Linked DNA regions of Homo sapiens: region 1 is linked to region 2. Evidence: promoter capture Hi-C in human tissues and cell types (Jung and others, 2019). All regions are on one chromosome and are shown on one strand. The core of a region is centred on a gene start or on the middle of the fragment in contact, and the rest is flanking DNA. Distances in the headings are between cores, read along the strand shown. Region 1 overlaps COL25A1 (collagen type XXV alpha 1 chain). Region 2 holds the start of ETNPPL (ethanolamine-phosphate phospho-lyase).

Evidence for each region. Contacts are between HindIII fragments. The study calls those that stand out against the background at their distance.
Region 1: a fragment that was not itself captured here is called in contact with the fragment with the promoter of ETNPPL in region 2 in 2 of the 25 tissues and cell types used here (adrenal gland and liver).

What each region holds. Positions count from the first base shown.
Region 1 is chr4:108,824,503-108,828,968 of GRCh38, forward strand. It overlaps COL25A1 (collagen type XXV alpha 1 chain), which reads right to left. Exons shown (of 38, transcript NM_198721.4): 33 at 2,633-2,686; 34 at 694-720. Among named protein-coding and RNA genes, the nearest start is that of ETNPPL, 64 kb to the left of the region's middle. The HindIII fragment of the contact is 3,359 bases long and covers 1,219-4,466 here.
Region 2 is chr4:108,761,747-108,766,209 of GRCh38, forward strand. ETNPPL (ethanolamine-phosphate phospho-lyase) reads right to left here and starts at 1,307. Exons shown (of 13, transcript NM_031279.4): 1 at 1,097-1,307. The coding sequence starts at 1,152. The HindIII fragment of the contact is 8,640 bases long and covers 1-4,252 here.

The sequences.
Region 1 (4,466 bases), core at 1,648-4,147, 64 kb after region 2:
TTGTGCAGATTTGGGCAAATCACTTACCTCTCTGCACTTTAGTCCGTTGACTGTAAAATGGGGTTAATGATATCTACCAGACAGCTGTTGTGAATGTTAAATGTGATGATGTACTACAAAGTACCAGAATGATGCCTGCCCATAACAGGTGCTCATAAACAGTAACTAGTATTACTTTTGGTATTCTCATTATTCAGGTAATACAGGATGAGCAGTGATTGTGTCTAGAGGCATTTACTTTTGACATTCTCTATTTTCACAGAATCATATTAGCATAAGATATATAGGGACTAAATGTTAAAAGGAAAAAAATATTGCATAACTGCTTTGAGAAAAAAACATAATATATCATTCTGTAAGGATAGCATGTGAGAAGTATATTGATTTTATGCATATTTTTCATAAATAGGTCATGCTGATGTTAAGAGTACCCTCAATTTGGGAAAGTATTTTGAAGTGCCACTATCCACTACCAGTTATTAATTTTATACAAGATAATTGTGTTTTTTTGCTTTTCTGTTTTATCTCATGCAAACACTAGTGTATTTTATATTGCTGTTTACATGCACAGCAATATATGTTCTATGCATACCTATATGCACAGAAAAAAAAGAAGTATTCTTTTTGTTATCGATGATGGAGACCATCAACATCTATTATAATAGGATGATGTTTATTGTACTTATTACTTACATCAAGACCAGGCTCTCCATCTTTCCCCTGCCAAAGAACCATAGTAGCTACATTAGTGTTTCTAAGTTTTGTGAATAGATTATTGCTTTATTTAAGGCTGTCTGAACATGCAACACTAGTACTAGAACAACTACTTCAGAAATGTGAAAAAGATTCTCATTTGGATTAGTGACTGTTAGTGTTGCAGTTAAGGGTCATGAAAATTTTATATTATATATAGGGTTAAATAGATTAATATTTTGCTGATGTTTAAGCCTTGGTAGCTAAGTTATCAGTCCAGGAGTTAAATTAAAAGTAAAAAATACTGTTTAGTTGATTAGTGACTGTTAGTGTTGAAGTTAAGGGTCATGAAAATTTTATATGATATATTGGGTTAAATAGACTAATATTCTACTGATGTTTAAAGCTTGGTATCTAAGTTACCAGTCCAGGAGTTAAGTTAAAAGCAAAAATACTGTTTAGCTGATTTAAAAACATACCAGCACTAATAGAGGATGTGAATCAATGCTACTTTAATTTGATAACTTAGTAGTTAGCTCACAAATGAGTAAAGAATGTAGAAATACAGTTTTAATTTGGCTAGGATGTGCACACTGTGTACGAAGGATGTGAAGGCTGCAACTTAAAAGCTGTTTTTAAGTAAGCTTTGTAAATGAATAATCCCCAAATTTTTTTTAAAAGTTGTAAGACTGTTAGGCAAGAATGATAAATTCACTCCCATGGTGCAGATTATCATGGTGATGACCCTATTGTGTCATATTATGGATCCATCCAAAGTTCACGAGAGGTTACTTTGATTTCATCAATTAGATTTTGAAACCTATTTCAAAATCAGCATCTTTTTTTTGATTTAGCACTGAGGTAATCATGGTTTATGTTTATTATTTCAATTCATAAAGAGCATGTGTGAGATATGGAAAGGTTAAAACCCTTAATGCAACGTACGCTTCTACTGTCGTCCTACCCTATCTTAATGAATCAATTATAATTATTCCCAAGATGATATTTTTAAAGCAAACCAGAGGTCTCAATTTGAATTCTGTGTAATTAAGAATTTTCAGGCCGGGCGCAGTGTCTCACGCCTATAAATCGAGCACTTTGAGAGGCCGAGAAGGGCGGATCACTTGAGGTCAGGAGTTTGAGACCAGCGTGGCCAACATAGTGAAACCCCATCTCTACTAAAAATACAAAAATTAGCTGGGCATGGTGGCACACATCTGTAATCCCAGCTACTTGGGAGGCTGAGGCAGGAGAATCACTTGAACCCAGGAGGTGGAGGTTGCAGTGAGCCAAGATCATGCCACTGCACTCCAGCCTAGGCAAAAGAGCAAGACTCCATCTCAAATGATAATAATAATAAGAAGAGAAGAATTTTCAGAAGACAGAGCACTATCAGTGTTCTATGTTCTGCAGATCATTTGTCATCACGGTAATTTAGAAAGTCAGAAACATCAAGTCGTCATAAATATCAATGTAATTGGGGGAATAATTTTTACTAGCAAGAGTCATTTTAGTAAATAGTCTATAGGAACAGATAAAGTCTGAAGAAGGCTGTTTTCAGTGAAGCTTCCACAGCCATTTTTGGATCCAGTGATTTTCCAAGGAAGTGCCAGTTATGAGTGTCCAGTCAGATGATGTAGGGAGGGCATCTTCTGACAGTTAGGATCCTGTTCTCGAGTTAATACTTTATTCTAGAGACAGTCTCTGATCCTGTCAATCTCGTGAAGTGCCTGGATATGTGTCTGTACATGATGAGAGGGCAAGAGACTGAATATGACCTATTTGTGAAGGACATGGAAGTACTGAATTTATAGATAATGAGTGGATTGTTGTTTCTTCTCTAACATTAGTCTGCCCCACAAGCGAAGGGTTAACCGTGTCAGTGACTGGTCATCTATGCATGCGGAAGGTGGGGAGGTGCATGTGACCAGGAACTCACAGGCAGCCCATAGGGCCCTCTTGGTCCAGGCTCTCCCATAGCTCCTTTTTCACCCTAAAATGAAAAGTAGAAAGTTCAAATCATACACACCCACCTACATTCACACACTTTCTCTCATGCCCTATGTCTAAAGCCTCTATTTCAAGGACCATTCTATGAAAATCTCAAAGATTTAGCCTCTTGCAGAGTCACTGCCAGTGATATTTGGAAAGTAATCCACAGTAGCATCTTTTACTAAATCACCTTTGAAAGAGGGGCAGCACAAGATTGCTGCTGGCCAGCTGTGCAAAAGCATTTGCATATCTCAGATGTCATACTTAGGTTTCTTTGGCATTAGTGTGAAACATTTATTTGTTACTAATTATTTTGTTAGCACCTTTAAATGTAAGAATAAAGTGTCTTTCTTTTTTGAGACAGGGTCTCCCTCTTTCATCCAGGCTGGAGTGCAGTGGCATGATCATGGCTCACTGAAACCTTAAACTACTGGGCCTAAGTGATCCTCCCACCTCGACCTCCTGAGTAGCTGGGACTACAGGCAAGCACCACTATGCCCAGGTAGTTTTTAAATTATTTGTAGAGATTACTATGTTGTCCAGGCTGGTCTTGAACTCTGGGGCCTCAAGCAATCCTCCCACCTTGGACTCCCAAAGTGTTGGGATTACAGGCTTGAACTACAGTGTGTGGCCTGAAATACCTTTCCTTCTATCAAAAAACAATTATTCAGGGAAACCCTTTCTCGATTGCCCACTTCCTACCCCCAGCTATATTTTATTTCACAGCCCTTAGACACCAGAAGACCCATAAAGCTTATGACCTGCTTATTCTCTGCTACCCTCACTAGAATATACACAGGAGGGTTCTGGGGCCTCTAGCTTTGTTGTTCCCTATAGCATCCTTACAGCTTAGAATAGTGTATGGCACATCAGTAAATGTTTGTTGAATGAATGAATCAAAGCAAATCTATATAATCATGTACACAGTTTGCTTCCTTTCTGAAAAAGAGGATTTATTTATTTTTTATTTTGAGACAGAGTCTTGCTCTGTTGCCCGGGCTAGAGTGCAGTGGCACAATCTCGGCTCACTGCAACCTCCACCTCCCAGGTTCAAGCAATTCTGCCTCAGCCTCCCGAGTAGCTGGGAGTACAGGTGCCCGCCACGCCTGGCCAATTTTTGTATTTTTAGTAGAGATGGGGTTTCACCATGTTGGCCGGGCTGGTCTCGAAGTCCTGATTTCAGGTGATCCACCCACCTGAGCCTCCCAAAGTGCTGGGATTACAGGCGTGAGCCACCGTGCCTGGCCTGAAAAAGAGGGTTTAAAAACTTTCAACCCCTCTGAATGCCAGATAAGGTAGGTATATGTTATCTTCCTCACTTTCTCTCTAAGTGCCTATTTAAATAGAACAGCTTTCCCCATCTTACACGATATTCTTGAACACTTATAAAGAATAAGTGTTATTGGAGGTAATCTTGTGAATAGAATAATTGTGATGATAAAGAAAGAGATGTTCTGTATTTCAAATGGTGTTTTCTGCTGCTGCCATCTCCAAATTGAAGTGTTTGTCAGTATTTAGTAGGAAAACTTCAGGAGTAATGGTGATTTTATATGAGTAGCCAAACAGAAAATCTTATCTCCTTTTATCATACCCCTGAAGGAGTTTAAAGGTTAGCAAATCTTTTTTCTTGGCAAAACGCCAGGTTCAGCTGATAACAGTGCCTGCAGAGCCACCTGATATGCCTGTGTTTCTCCAGATTCCCGTGTGAGCAAATTTCAGGTCCCTGATAGCATTTTCTTTATCTAAATTTGAGGGGTCAGTGGAACTAATTAACACTGTCA
Region 2 (4,463 bases), core at 57-2,556:
AGAACTGGATTATTTTGATCCCACTTAGCGGCTGAGAGAGATGGAACTAGTCTTCCAAACCACCCAGAAACCCCTCCAGTTGGGGTGAGGAGCTTCAGTCTGAGAAACTGTCCAGCATTCCTCCGAAGAGGATGCGGATTGTTTTCTTCCTTGTAACCCCAAGTGCTCTCTCATGCCCACTGGCCCGGCTGCAGTCGTTCATTTCAAGTGAATATTGCAGACGGTTGACTTTACAGTATTCGGGGTCATTAATCATCATTTATATTTACACGTATCTTTTTAAAAACCACGCACAAAACACTAACATATTAATCTCATCTTCTTGCTCCTGTGAAGTAGAATGTTATTCCTACTTTCATAGAAGAGACAATTAATTTGACAGAGGTCCACACAGGGAATATGACATCCAACGAGAGCTAGAGCCCCTGTCGGTCTTATATACTCACCTTTATATTACTAAGTCGTTTGTGACGGGGGCAAGACAAGCAGGCTGGGAAGAACACAGCTTGGGAGAGCAAGTTGGGTAAGAGGGATCTAAATAAAGTCTCTGCTTTTCTAACAGAAGGTGGTTTCAAGTTTTTCTATTGGCTAGATAAACCCTTCATCACTTAACCAAGCATGCAAGAAGAAAAAGCTCACTTTAAGTAAAAATTGTCAGAATTGGTTTGTTTGCGGAGCCATCATGAAAAAATATTTCTCAGTTCACAGTTTCCAAAAACTTTCGAGTTGTGTGGGGGTGGCGGAGCGCTATCCTTCTTCCACCCATCTCCCATCCCTGGAATGGTGTCTGCTAGGGCTATTGGCCGTCATCCACCAACCCCTCTAGCCGGCCGGCAGCCCCCGCTAGTCCGCCGGCTGCAGAGCGAGCCGGGGACTTTCGAGCGGGCAGGAAGCCCAGCGTTCCGGGTTCCAGGAGCGTTTCTGGGAGTCCGCGCGGCCCCTGCAGGTGGAGGCGCGCGGGGCGCGTGCACAGGCGCGGCGGGCACGGAGTGCGGCTGCAGCGCATCGTTTGTTCCCTAGCCGGCTTTCTCTCTCCACCTTCTGCACTCGTTATTGCCCCCTCTCTGCACTTACTTCCGGGCCAGGGTGCCCTTACCCGATGTGCTTCTTCCTCAGCCCCAGAGTGTCCCGCTTACTGTACAGCTCGCACATGGTGGCGGGGTGCAGGGCGCTGCGAAGGTGCAAGGTGCAAGGTCTGCGCGCCTCCTACGCGAGCCTGGGACTGCCTTGGCGGCCCCGGCCGGCCTTCCTCCCGTTATCCCTCCTGGCGTTCTCTTGCCCGGGGCGTCGGAGGTCACCGGTGGCGTCAACTAGCTAGGATCATCTCCCTTTTAAGTCTGGCTCTGGCGTTGCCCTTTGCCAAGCCCCTCCTCCTCCCCCGCCGGGGCCGCGGGCAGGTCGCCGGGCTAGCAGCTCATTCGCCACCACCCTGTCCTGCCAGGCCGGCTCGGCCCTACCCGCCCCTATCATTCCTCTGAATTCGCCTTTCATTCTCCTAACTTTGCCTCGTCTTTGCTTTTCCTCCTCCTCTGCCTGCGAATTCCCTCCTTCCCACGTTCTTTCTGGTTTCTTTTTAGTGTAGTCCTTTATTTTCTGGTAAAAATTCAGGAGTTAGGCGCTTCCCGGATCAAGACTCACTGCGCAGTCTGATAAGGTAACCTACCATTTACTCAGCACAAGGACGCGTCCTAACGAGAAATAACCCGGACTCAGCCTGTTATCTCCATTGGCAGTGATGATATATGCAGTGTTTCAAACATCTCCTTTAACAATGATTACACTTCTAATTCCTCTAACTATACAACTTACAAAACACATTCACATGACTTATCTTGTTCAGTCTTCAAAACAACCCTGAGAGATGACCACGAGTGTTACCCCATTTAATGAACGGGGAAAGTGAGGTTATTCCCTGTTCTAATGATTATATATCCACTTGATGCTGAAAACGGGACTCATTCTTAGATTTCTTGACTTCCTTCAAGATGGTCTTCTCACACAGATCATATCTGAAGCTAAATATGTGCACAGGTAGAAACTTTTTTTTTTTTTTTTTTTTTTTTTTTTTTTTTGAGGATGGAGTCTGGCTCTGTCACCCAGGCTGGAGTGCAGTGGCGCAATCTCGGCTCACTGCAAGCTCCGCCTCCCGGGTTCACGCCATTCTCCTGCCTCAGCCTCCCGAGTAGCTGGGACTACAGGCGCCCGTCACTACGCCCGGCTAATTTTTGTATTTTTAGTAGAGATGGGGTTTCACCATGTTAGCCAGGATAGTCTCGATCTCCTGACCTCGTGATCCCCCCGCCTCGGCCTCCCAATAGAATCTTAATTAACTGAATCATTAAATCATACATTATTTTAACTAGAAGTCATCTGGTTTAACTTCTCTGCTCTGTAGATAAGAACAGTGAGGCACAGGAAAGGTGAAGGTTTATTCAAGTTCACACAAACACTTAGTCATTGGGTTAAGGATAGGTCATTTTATTCTCTCTGTGTTTTGAAAGGGCAGCAGGGAAAGCCTAATTTGCATGTATCAACACATTTGATAAGTATTTGCAACTGATCTTTCTCTTGAAAAAAGTTATTAATATATATTCATGCACTGCAGGAGGAGTAGAATTGGATTGCCTAAGGTAGAAAGAGAAATGGAGTCCTATGAGGAACAGTGTGTTAATTCCAGATTTTAGGCCAGGCGCCGTGACTCACGCCTGTAATCCCAACATTTTGGGAGTCCAAACTGGGCGAATCACCTGAGGTCTGGAGTTCCAGACCAGCCTGGCCAACATAGCAAAACCCCATCTCTACTAAAAAAATACAAAAATTAGCTGGGCGTGGTGGTGGGCACCTGTAATCCCAGCTACCCAGGAGGCTGAGGCAGGGAGAATTGCTTGAACCTGGGAGGCAGAGGTTGCAGTGGGTTGAGATCATGCCACTGCACTCCAGCCTGGGCAACAGAGTGAGACTCCATCCCCCTCCACAAAAAAAAGAAAAAAAAAAGAATTCCGTGTTTTATAAATGAAGAGCAGGAAGCACTTTGGAGACTTGCAAGAAATCCCAGTTATGTAATCTTGGTCTAGTTCTGTGCCTGAAAGATATTGCCAACTGTATATCTACTCTCAAACCACCTTGACCTGGTGAAGTCATAGTCACACTTCCTTCATAAAACTTTATGGATTCTTGTTGTTAATATTCCCAGTGCCTTAAGAAACTCTGGATTAAGAGTCTTGGGTTCTAGATCTGGTTCTTCCATAAACCAGCTGGGCTTCTTAACCTTTCTGAGGCCCAATTTCTTTGTATTGAAAACTGAGCTCTGTGGCTGGTGGGGAGCTACACAGCTGTAATCCCAACACTTTGGGAGGCTGAGGCAGGTGCATCACTTGAGCTCAGGAGTTTGAGACCAGCCTGGGCAACCTGGTGAAATTCTGTCTGTACAAAAAATTTAAAAATGAGCCAGAGATGGTGGCGTGTACCTGTAATCTCAGTTACTCGGCAGGCTGAGGTGGGAGGATCCCTTGAGCCTAGGAGGAAGAGTCTGCAGTGAGCTAAGATTGTGCCACTGCACTCTAGCCTGGATGACACAGTGAGACCCTGTCTCATAAAAAGAAGAAACTCTCTGACTCAAAGCATTACAAGTAGGGCTTGAATGAGATCATGATTTGGTCTTTATAAGGGTAGAGTCCTGAACCCTCTTCTTTTCTCTTCACTCTTTCCCAAGAGTGCTACCTTATGTTTTAACCATTTATTTAGGAGAAGGCTTCTTAGATTCATTATCTTTTATGGGAAAGCAAGTCACTGTTACATAAAAGATAATTTCCCCATTATTTAACTTTTTTCACGATAGAATATATAACATTGACTGAGTACCAAGGACAGTCTTTAAATAAAGAACTGACACATAATGGATCAAAATAAGGATGGATGAAAGTCGACAGACATCCACACTATACAAAGCTTTATCAAAAAACAAATCCCAAGGTATTTTGGGGTATATTTTCTCATGTACTTCTCAAATGTAGAATTATTTGGTAGGAATGTATGCTGTAGTGTCTTTTCTCTCCAGAAGTTGACACTTGGGCCAGGCATGGTGGCTCACACCTGCAATCCCAGCACTTTGGGAGGCAGAAGTGGGCAGATCTCTTGAGATCAGGAGTTCAAGACCAGCCTGGCCAACATGGTGAAACCCCATCTCTACTAAAAATGCAAAAAATTAGCCATCTGTGATGGCATGTGCCTGTAGTCCCAGCTACTCAGGAGGCTGAGGCAAGACAATCACTTGAACTTGGGAGGTGCAGGTTGCAATGAGCTGAGATCATGCCACTCCAGCTCCAGCCTAGGTAACAGAGCAAGATTCTGTCTCAAAAAAAAAAAAAAAAAAAAGAAAAGAAAAGAAAAGAAAAAAAGAAGTTGACGTTCTTTCAGTTTTGGTCCTGACATTATTGATTGGCTCACTCTATTAAGTGAGTCCT